4 separate regions of the Homo sapiens genome follow, and all the other regions are linked to region 4. The links are contacts of gene promoters, found by promoter capture Hi-C in blood cells and fetal thymus (Javierre and others, 2016). All regions are on one chromosome and are shown on one strand. The core of a region is centred on a gene start or on the middle of the fragment in contact, and the rest is flanking DNA. Distances in the headings are between cores, read along the strand shown. Region 1 has its middle 2.8 kb from the start of CITED2. Region 2 has its middle 32 kb from the start of TXLNB. Region 3 has its middle 14 kb from the start of CITED2. Region 4 holds the start of ABRACL (ABRA C-terminal like).

What was found. Contacts are between HindIII fragments. The CHiCAGO score rates a contact against its expected background, and 5 or more counts as called.
Region 1: a fragment that was not itself captured here is called in contact with the fragment with the promoter of ABRACL in region 4 in 8 of 17 cell types (fetal thymus, non-activated CD4 T cells, total B cells and 5 more); the score reaches 10.1 in fetal thymus.
Region 2: a fragment that was not itself captured here is called in contact with the fragment with the promoter of ABRACL in region 4 in 3 of 17 cell types (fetal thymus, naive CD4 T cells and total B cells); the score reaches 7.5 in fetal thymus.
Region 3: a contact is called between a fragment that was not itself captured here and the fragment with the promoter of ABRACL in region 4, in 10 of 17 cell types (fetal thymus, non-activated CD4 T cells, naive CD8 T cells and 7 more). The highest score is 12.8, in fetal thymus.

Annotation. Positions count from the first base shown.
Region 1 is chr6:139,376,081-139,378,780 of GRCh38, reverse strand. No RefSeq gene overlaps it. Among named protein-coding and RNA genes, the nearest start is that of CITED2, 2.8 kb to the right of the region's middle. RefSeq lists a silencer at 1,735-2,029. The HindIII fragment of the contact is 359 bases long and covers 1,113-1,471 here.
Region 2 is chr6:139,322,655-139,325,354 of GRCh38, reverse strand. It overlaps a transcript of TXLNB not described here. Among named protein-coding and RNA genes, the nearest start is that of TXLNB, 32 kb to the right of the region's middle. The HindIII fragment of the contact is 251 bases long and covers 1,125-1,375 here.
Region 3 is chr6:139,358,968-139,361,667 of GRCh38, reverse strand. No RefSeq gene overlaps it. Among named protein-coding and RNA genes, the nearest start is that of CITED2, 14 kb to the left of the region's middle. The HindIII fragment of the contact is 9,947 bases long and covers 1-2,700 here.
Region 4 is chr6:139,027,403-139,030,102 of GRCh38, reverse strand. ABRACL (ABRA C-terminal like) reads right to left here and starts at 1,358. Exons shown (of 3, transcript NM_021243.3): 1 at 1,228-1,358. RefSeq lists silencers at 165-355, 405-774, 1,035-1,194 and enhancers at 1-394, 217-511. The HindIII fragment of the contact is 5,437 bases long and covers 1-2,700 here.

The DNA.
Region 1 (2,700 bases), core at 43-2,542, 350 kb before region 4:
ACTGCAATCTCGAACTCCTGGGCTCAAGCAATCCCCCCGCTTCGGCCTCCCCAGTATCTAGGACTACAGGTATGCACCTCCACACCCAGCTCATTTTCTAATTTTATTTTGTTGAGACAGGATCTCAAGATGTTGCCCAGGTTGGTCTCGAATTCCTGGGCTCAAGTGATCCTCCCACTTCAACCTCCCAAAGTTCTGGGACTACAGGTGTGAGCCACTGCACCTGGCCTACCTCCAGCCTTGAGAGTGACCTTCTCCAGAAAGTCTTCCTTGGCCCCTCATTGGGGTTCCCATAGTGCCAATGCCATATTTTATTCATGCATTCACCCTTCAATTAGTAAAAGTCTAATACCTGCCAGGACTTGTTTCAGACAGTGAATGAACAACCAGGCTAGGTCTCTGCTCTCATGGAGCTGTCATTCTAATGGGGAAGGCAGTAAACTGTCAATTTACCATGCAGCATGTCAGGTAGGAAGATACTCTAAGATGAAACATAAAGCAGGGCAAGGAAACAAGAGAGATATTGCTATTTGGGTAGGACAGTCAGGGAGAGTTTGTTGAGGTGATATTTGAGCAGAGACATGAAGAAATGAGAATATGGGCCAGTAGGACGTCTGGGAAGACAGTTCCAGGTGGCAACTTTCTTTGTCAGCAGCAGGGGTCTTGTATTACTCAGTTTATTTACCACTGTTATTAGTCAAATTGTGTCCCCGCAAAAATATCTTGGAGATATGTTGGAGTTCTAACCTCCAGAATATGACCTTCTTTGGAGTCAGGAGCTTATAGAGGTGATCAAGTTAACATGAGGCCAGTAGGAGAAGCCCTAATCCAAAAGGACTAGAGTCCTTGTCAAAAGGGGAACTTTGGACACAGAGATACACATACAGGGGGGCGGGGGGTGGAAAACGTCACATGAAGATGAAGGTGGGGATCAGTGTGATGCATCTACAAGTCAAGGGACACCAAAGATTGCCGGGAAACCACCAAAAGCCAGGAAAGAGACACGGAATAGATTCTCTCTCACGGTCTTCAGAACCAACCCTGCCAACAACTTGGCCTTGTACCTCTAGCCTCCAGAACTGTGAGACAATAATGTTTTGTTGTTTAAAGCTTGATCAGCCTTAAGTTTGTATTAGACTGGTGCAAAAGTAATTACAGTTTTCGCCATTGCTTTCAATGGCAAAAATCACAATTACTTTTGCACCAACCTAAATAGTACTGTGTTATGGCAGCTCTGGGAAATGAATACAACCATTCAGTGCTGTGAGGGCCACAGACAGATCACTTGCTCGCTCACCCAGGTTCACGGGATAAACCCTGGTTATACGGAACTTCTGGGAGCCCTGGGTTACTGTAAGTGCCCCCTAACTGGACTCCCTGTTTCCTGTCTTACTTTCTCTAACCATTCTCCACAGTACTGCCCTGATCTTTCTAAAATCCAAATCTTTCCTATCTCATGGCTTCACAAGCTTTTACCTGCCTCCCAATGTCTTTGGGATACAGCAAAATTTCTCAGCTTGAGGCCACAATGCCCTTGGCATCCGGCCCCAGCATATTTCTCCAACCTTATTTCTCTCATCTTTGCATTCACTCCCTAGCCATACATTTTCTACCCCACTCCTAATGGGACCAAACTTCCATTCATCCTGAGGCCTCCACTTAGTCACCATCTCCACCGGAAAGCCTTCCCAAAGCACCCAGGAGGGGGGTAGGTGTCCCTCCTATGTGCTCTCCAAAGCCCTTTCCTTCAATGCCTTTGTGGCATTTATCACAGTGTGTTCAAGGCCTGTTTGTCAGTTTTCTCCCTGTGACCATGAGTTCCTATCTTGTTTGTATCTCCAGGCACCAAGAAAGCACTTGGCACTTGGAGGACATTCAGTGGACGGATGAGAATAAATGAACAAAGCATGCCATGTTCCAACCAGCTGGTCCCAGAACTATTTTGTTCTCCTTTAAGGGATGGGGGATGGGCAGGTGACCTTTCCAGGGATTTCCCAATAGTAGGTAGAACCACTGGAGCTGGATGGAGCTCCACCTTTCCTTAGTGGTTGCAAGAGGAATTTAGATTAGACATTCAAAAGCTGTTTCTTGTGTCGAAAGACACTTGCAGTACAAAGAAGGGAAAGTAAACAATCCCGCGATTTTTCAGGTTGGGTTTTACCAATATTTTAGAATCTGTTTTTTTATAGGAAGTGGCCCCTTCAGGTATCCAAGCCTCTGATACGGTAAACTGCATGTCCTGACCTACAGGTAAAGGTGGTGGGAGGTTAGGAGAATAGGGAATTGTTGCAACTAACAATGCAATGTGTCATGTGCCCGTATCTCTAAAAAGTAAATATTTTTGAGGTTTAAAAATTATTTGCCTGCACGGTTTGCCGGAGAGCCTGGAAGAGGAAAGAAGACAAGACACAAAGTAACAACATTTACAAAAATATGCCTGACTAGGAAAAGACAGAGGGGTCATAGACGAAAATAATCAGGATTGGGTCTCTTTTGCAAATTCCTGAACGGGGAAATGTATCAGAATTTCCAGTCCTCAAGAAACAGGGCCTTTAAAAGTCTTGTGTGCAAGAAGGGGGAAAAAGACGAGGGGGGGGCGGGGAGGCGGACTCGCTCTTCGCAGCAGGAAGTCTTCAATGGCTATCGAGTTATGAAGAAACAACTGCCCAGAAGTCCTTATTCGGAGCGCTAAACTCGATT
Region 2 (2,700 bases), core at 1-2,500, 300 kb before region 4:
AAGGAAATATATTTTAGGTTGCTCTATGAAAAACACACATTAGCATTTTTCAGAACATTAGGAACCAAACACAGTATCATAAAAACATAGAAAAAAAGGAACTAATTTTATCTTCTAGTCACAGATGATGTTCAGAATCAAAATGACATGTGACTAATAGTCAGATATCAAATTAGTGGAGCTCTGCTCTTAACCACATATTACTCCATATCTGTTTCTTTATGGCAGCAAAAGACAAGACTCCAGCAGTGGTTCAGCTGTATAATGGGAATATGAATATTCCAGAACTTTCTGTATGCCAGGTGATTGAGAACAACAGTCTCTTAATATTACCTGGCTTTTAAAAGTATTGGCATACATTTGAACTAAAGATTTTTTTAAAAAATAAAATCTGTCCAGGTGCAGTGGCTCACGCCTGTAATCCCAGCACTTTGGGAGGCCGAGGTGGGAGGATCACGAGGTCAGGAGATTGAGACCATCCTAGCTAACATGGTGAAACCCCGTCTCTACTAAAAATACAAAAAATTAGCCAGGCGTGGTGGCACGTGCCTGTAGTCCCAGCTACTTGGGAGGCTGAGGCAGGAGAATGGCATGAACCCAGGAGGCGGAGCTTGCAGTGAGCCAAGGTGGTGCCACTGCACTCGAGCCTGGGTGACAGAGCAAGACTCCGTCCCCCCCAAAAAATAAATAAATAAAAAATGAAATAAAAGGTAATCTCTTAAAAAAAATTATTCTGCATTCAAGTTAAAACCATTGAATGTAGTCCCACGGGCCCTTGTCCTGGGAAAGCCACTGTTCAATCAGCAGCTGTTTATGGGAGATTGAACAGGGAGAAAAAACTAACAAAAATTCCTGCCCCCATGCAACATACAGGAGAGAGGAGAAGACACAGAATAAACAAGGAAATAAAACTTTCCTTTCCAGAAACAATAACAGACCAAAAAAAAAAAAAAAAAAAACGGGGGGATTTTGTAAAATGTCATCCTGAACTAGTCACAGTTAAAAAAAAAAATTAAATGAAAAAAATATATATGTATGTATATATATATACACACACATTGAATACACTCCACAAAAGAGGAGGCTCCTCTCTGTCCCCAGAGCTTGGAAGGAAGCTAGAAGCTTCCGGCAGAAGATTCTGAAAACAAAGCTAAGCTCAAGCATTAATGGGCTGCATGTTTAACATTTGGTGCTAGAATAAGGTAGTCAAAGATGGGAATCATAAAACAATGTCAGTATCCCAGAACACTTTTCCAAGTCAAAGTGGAGTTGAAACAGTTAAACAGACAGTCATCTGAATAAACAGGAACCTGTTTCTATGGCGATGACAATGGGGGAGGGGCGTGACTCCTATCTACCTTCCCTGCGCAAAGCTTCTGGGGGCGTGTTTTGCTTTATGGGACCCTTTCCAAACCCTGACCACAGCAGAAAGGACGGGGATGAGCACTGACTGGAGCAATCTGTTGACTGTCCCCTGTTGTAAACCACAGCTGCCTAATTTTGAGAAACAGGGGCCGAGCCATCAGATGTAGGGGAATGGAAGCTGATGCCAACGGAAGCCCGGAGGTAAACTAGGGCCCCGGAAAAACGAAGAGGAAACAGAAATTATGAGTAAGCAGCGGAAGTTGGTAAGTAAGCCTAGAGAAGACAATGCAGCAGATGTACAGAGAGAAACCACGTGCCTCGTGATTCTTGGTGACTTTCCTGCTTGTCCCCAGCCCAGGTCCACATGTTTCTTTATTATTATATAAGTAAATAAAAAAACTAAACAAGCCTGGGCGCGGTGGCTCACGCCTGTAATCCCAGCACTCTGGGAGGCCGAGGCGGGCGGATCACGAGGTCAGGAGATCGAGACCATCCTGGCTAATACTGTGAAACCCCCGTCTCTACTAAAAATACAAAAAATTAGCTGGGCGTGGTGGCACGCACCTGTAGTCCCAGTTACTCGGGAGGCTGAGGCAGGAGAATTGCTTGAACTCGGGAGGCGGAGATTGCAGTGAGCCTTGATCATGCCATTGCACTCCAGCCTAGGCGACAGAGCGAGACTCCGTTTCAAAAAAAAAAAAAAAAAACTAAACAAATTCTTTTTCTTGGGGTCACTATAATACATCTCTAGAGGTTTCTTGCAAACAAAAGAGCCCAAACCACACACTGAGCCCCATCCCTTCTTCATCTCGTGCAATGTCAACACCAACAAAATGATTTCCTATGTATTTAAGGAAGGATAATCATAGTCACTGGTCCAAAATGAAACTTCTTACTGAAATGACAATTGAAATTATTCCTAGTCAGTTCACAGAAATGCTAGTTTCTTATTTTAAAATGAGGACAGATCCAAAAGAGATAAAGGGATTTAGGGAAATGGACATTTAGAAAATTGATAGCCCCATGGGCCTCTGTCCTGGGGAAGCCACTATTCAATTAGCATCTGTTTATGGGGGATTCAACAGCAGGGAAAACCCAGCGAAAATGCCTGCCCCCATGCAACATACAGGCAAGAGGAGGAGACAAAGAATAAACACAGCAAATAAGTAAAATGTACAGAAAATGTGCAGTGTGTTTTTTCTACAGAAAAAGAAGGAACAAGGGGGATATAAAGCTGGGCTGGGGAGGCATCGATATTTTAGGGGAGTGGCCGGGAAGGCAGTTGTTACTAAGATAATTTGGATGAGAGGTGGTTGAACTCTGCACCGTATTGAG
Region 3 (2,700 bases), core at 178-2,677, 330 kb before region 4:
TGGACTATGGGCAAGTAGCTGTCAGGAAAGGCTAGCACATTGGCTGGCCGGGAAAACTCCAACAAAGAGACAGAGAAACTATAGTCAAAGAAAGCATGGAGGTGTTTTTAGTGAAATTATCTAATATTGACCCTGTAATGTCCTCTGGAAGCCATGCACTCATACTGAAGAGCAGAGAAACTGGTTTGCAGAAGTCAGCGGGAGAGTGGAACACATTGCCTGAACAAAGCAATAGTAAGAGACCATCTGGTGCTAAATCAAGATAGATGGAGAGGGAAGACACATCTGTCCCGGGCAACTTCCTGGTTTCCTGATTAGCACCCACCATACCCACAGTTCCTGTAAGATGTGTCTATGCCTTTTGTAATTTGTCTAACTTGAGGGATTTTGAGAATATCTATTTTATTACTCTGTGCTTTTGCACATGCTGCTCCCTCTGCCCAAAAGGCACTTCCTCATCTTCATTCCTTTGCTGAAATGTCCTTCAATACCCACCTTAAGTATCTTCTTCTCTGAGAAACTTCCTCATATACCTCCCTACTTTGCAGCACCCCTATACCTTATAAATACCTCTGTTTGTATGGATTACGTACACAGTATTACAATTATTTGATAATAAGTTTCTCTCTTCTACTTTGCAATCATATCTATTAAGAAATTTTTAGCTGCAAATAATAGAAATCCTGATTCTGGCTTAAACCATGAGAAATACATTTATTATCTGTCAAAAGTCAAGAAGGCAAGGGCAGGCTTCAGGGTTGATTAATTCACTGATCAATAATGTCCACAAAGACTCAGGCTTCTCTCATCTCTCTCCTGGGCTGTCGTCAGTGTTGGCCGCACCGTGGACCGGTGACAGGTGGCATGAGCAGAGCTCACGTGACAAGTAGGGAAAAGAAAACTTTCTCCAGAACCATCCTTTTCTTCATGTATCATGTCATGGACCAATTTCTGAACCAACCAACCACTGGGATTGGTTTTACCATGGGGTGGAATTATCACAATTGACTTAATCACCTCGGTGTGAAATGGATATTAAACTGACAACTCCATCACCAGAAGAGTTAACAGCGAAGCAGACCTTTTCTAAAATTTCTGTTTCAAGGCATAGATTTTAAGCTGTAATTGACAGGGACTCTTTTTAAAGTTTTTTTTTTTTCCAAATCTTCTTCATATAATAAAGACATATATAGCTAACAAAATTATATCATAAATCACTCAGAGAGGGTTTACTTGATTAAGGTTGAAATGTCTTCTATAAAGCAACATTTGTTAATATAAATAAATATTCTATTAAAAAGAAGTATATGGTCATTATGTCTTCATTTCTAGCCCTTCAAAATATGTTTGATATTCCCTTGTTAATATGACTAATAAGTAATTTTTCTGCACCAAGAAAATCATGTACATTTTGGCAGGTGATTAATCTCTGTGCAAAATGAACAGAATCTAATATTTATGAACAAATTACTGATAGCTATATAATCTATTTCCATAATAAATGCACTGGTCCGTATGACAAAGCCAAAAAGAATATAAAAACAGCCTGACAAGATTCAAACACGGAAGATAAGAAAACTCTAATATATGGCCGTGAACATCTTCTGTTCTGTCTACTCATTGCTTGTCCTACCCTTCCACAAAATGCCACTTTTTCACTTTAGTTACATACGTCCATGTGAAAATTCCCATAATCCTATGTGCCCTGGGCACAGTGAATGGCTAGGGGTGCCCAGATGGGCCCAGTTGAAACATTCATCACACTTTCATCTTACCCTCTGGCTGCAGCTAATTGGTCTGTGGATAACACTGACCCAACAGAAACCTTCCCACAGGAGTTAGCTTTCTTCCTTTCTTCTTCATTTTAGTAATTTTGGGGGCACAAATAGTTTTTTGTTGCACAGATGAATTATGTAGCAGTGAATTGAGATTTTAGTGCTCCCATCACCCATGTAGTGTACGTTGTACCTAATGTGTAGTTTTTTATCCCTAACCCCCCTTCCACCTTTCCTGTTCTGAGTACCTATAGTCCAATATATCACTCTGTATGCCTTTGCGTACTCACAGCTCAGCTTCCACTTATCAATGAGAACACATGGTTTTTGGTTTTCCACTCCCAAGTTACTTCACTTAGAATAATGGCCTCCAGCTTCATCCAAGTTGCTGCAAAGACATTATTTCATTCCTTTTAATGGCTGAGTAGTATTCCATGGTGTATATATACCACATTTGCTTTATCCACTCATTAGTCAAAGGGCACTTAGGCTAGTTCCACATCTTTGCAATTGTGAATTGGGCTGCTATAAACATGCACGTGCAAAGATTATTTTCATGTAATGACTTTTTTTCCTCTGGGTAGATACTCAGTAGTAGGGTTGCTGGATCAAATGGTAGATCTACTTTTAGTTCTTTAAGGAATCTCCATACTGTTTTCCATAGAGGTTGTACTAATTTACATTCCCATCAGCACTGCATAAAAGTTCCTTTTTCCCCATATCCATAGCAATATCTGTTGCTTTTGACTTTTTAATAATGGCCATTCTTGAAGGAGTAAGGTGGTATTGCACTGTGGTTTTAATTTGCATTCCTCCCCCTCCCCCAGGAGCTTTTAACTTGACAACAGAGAGATCAAGTTTTAAGTCCTCTTTAGTGATGAAACTATGAGCCTGTAAACTGCTGTTAGCCATACTTCCAGCCGTG
Region 4 (2,700 bases), core at 109-2,608:
GAGCGGCTGGACCAGAAGACAGGAAAAGGCTCCAGGGAAGGCGAGGTAGATGACGGCCAGGCACTCTAATTGTCGCAGAATCGATTTCGGCTTTGTGCGTGGGAAACACAAAGGAAGCGGAAAGTCGGAGGACTGGGCAGAACCCGAAACTCACCACCAATACACACTTTAGAATGTATTTAAGGACCCTCAGGGCATTGTTATTTTTCAAAAGTTTGGAGGCAATGCATGGAGATTTTCTAATATCCAAGGAAATAAAGCCTACTGGAATAGGTATGTCCGGAATCAGGAACCAACTTTACACACTCGGGCTGGGCACGTTTTCCCAGCCCTTCTTCGCAATCGCGGACAAGCAGCTGGTGCGGGTCAAAGGGTGACTGGGCTCCTTACTCCCTCCGGTCTGGGGCGCGCTCACTCCATATTTGGCCATTCTGCTACCAGCTTGGGGTTCTGCCTGGTAGAGGTCCCCTAACCCCGTGCCCTGCAGCCCATCATCACACGGTCACCGCCGGCACCAGTGCAGGGCTGGGGAGCGCGGGGCTGGGCCCCCCGTGGCGGGGCGGCACCGCTGGCGCCCGGGAAGGGCCGCGTCCCGGAAGTCTTTGTCTCCGCAGCTCCCGGCCCGGCGCCGCGGGTCTGCCTCCCCCGTGGCCCGGGCGCCCCGAAGCGCCGCGAGAGCGAGCACCCAACCCGGGCGACGAAAACGGACCCTGCCCCGGGCTCCACGAGCCCCTGGTGTCCCCTCACGACTCTGCACCCCCTGATCTGGAGCGCACAGAGCCGCACCCACCTCCGGCGCTGCAGAGTCCACTGCCCTGAGGCCACCACGTTCCTCGGGGCAGCCTCTCCTCTCGCCCCCAGCCCTTCCCCACCCAGCTCTGCAGAACTGGCTCCTGAACCACCGCCAAGTGCAAAGCCGACACGTCGCACCGCGGTAAAAATCGTTCCATTTCTGCCGGCTTCCCAGTCCGCCCCCGGCCGGCGAAACGTCACGTGAGCCGAGTGCGGAAGTCGACCCGAGAGGTGGGGGCGTGGGCGGCGCGCGCCCCACGGGACCCCAACCCGCGAGGTCTCGGCCCAGCCGGTCGCAGCTTCCGCGCGCCCTGAGCCCCCTCCCGGCCCCCTCCTGACCCGACTCTCACCGCAGCCCGCGGTGCCCGGCGGCGCACCACGGACACCCAGTCCATCCCTGCTACCTAAGCCACATCTGCCCGGGCGCTCACGCACCTCTCTGCGCGGTTTTCCTTCCCGCCGGAGAACTGGCGCCGCGTGGGTCTGGACCCGGTTACCTTCTTCAGTGCACTGGGGAGGGTGAGGCCAAGGAAGGAAGTGGCTGAGGCAAAGAGAAAGACGGCTGTGGAGGAGGAGGAGCAGGGTAGGGGGAAAAGTAAGTGTTTCTGCGCTCAAGAAAGGGGCCGCCCACACTCCCAGGGACAAGCCTATGAGGAGGAAACTCAGGGGAGGAGACGTCCAAGAAAGGGGCTGACTGCAGACAGGTGAAGCGCCCTGGGCTCCTAGGAAAACGGGCCCAGAGCCTGGATTACCTCACTTTTCCACCGTGCTACTCAGAGCCAAGGATCCCAGGATCTGCATCTGATCCTGGGCGTCGATTTCCTGATGGATTTCTCTCCCAACGTAAGAAACAAAGCGCCCTCAAATTGCTGAAGGCTGCTAGAAAGAACGTGGCATTCATGGGTTCCGGATGCCGGGGGCCTCCAGAAAACTACGACTCATGACTTAAAAATGGCTTAATTCGCAAAACAAAATGCAATCTTGAAAGCCAATTTGTCAGACTGCAAAGAAATTTTACTTGGACATAGATAGTTGTTGACCCTGGGTCAGTATCGGTTTCTTCCCTTGTTCATTCATTATTTCATACATTTAACTTCATAATTCAATTTATTCATGCTCCCTTTGTTTTAGTCACTGTTATTTTAATATATGCGTGTGTGAGAGAGAGATGCTTACCGTACCCAGAGAGTCCTTTTGGAAAGGAAACAGTTACCCAAACTATTTCTAGAGCAGGGGTTGCACAAATAACTACAAAAAACGTTCCTTACCCCCTCCCCACCCCCAGCCCAGCTAATTTAAATTAAGAGTGATCGCGTGACCCAAGAGCGCACAATCCGTGATGTAGTCATCATCCTGTGAGGTGACCTGGAGCAAACAGTTCTCATCAAACACGGACTCTGATAGTTAGTAAGCCAATCAGACACTCCCTTGGAAATGGAAAGTGGAGAATGCAGAGACGGAGCTGTCTGATGTAAGAGAAAGGTTGGAGCTAAGAGAGGGTAAGGCAGAAGGGGCCAAAATGGGCTTCGGATGCAAAACATTTGAGTAAGCAGAAACCAGGAGAATGTAGCAGCAGGTTGGGTGGAGGCACAAGTGGTAGAAGCCAGTCAAAGACAAGCTGAGACCAAGTGATGGAAGGAGAGCAACAAAGACCTGCTTCCCAGGGGCATGTGAGTGTTCAGTTCCCTGGGGCTGCACTGGATCCATCCACTTCCCACGCTTCATTCTAGTCTTTACGGTGAATACCTGTCTCCTGGGTGTGACTGAAGGAGTCTCTGTTCTGTAATCTTCAACAAAGGTCTGATTCTTCTAAGTGTCTCATGGCAGATAAAGTTTAAGGTGACTCCAAGATCTTTTCAGACCTATTTTTTTCTTTTACTTGTTTTATATTGTTACCAAAATGATTGA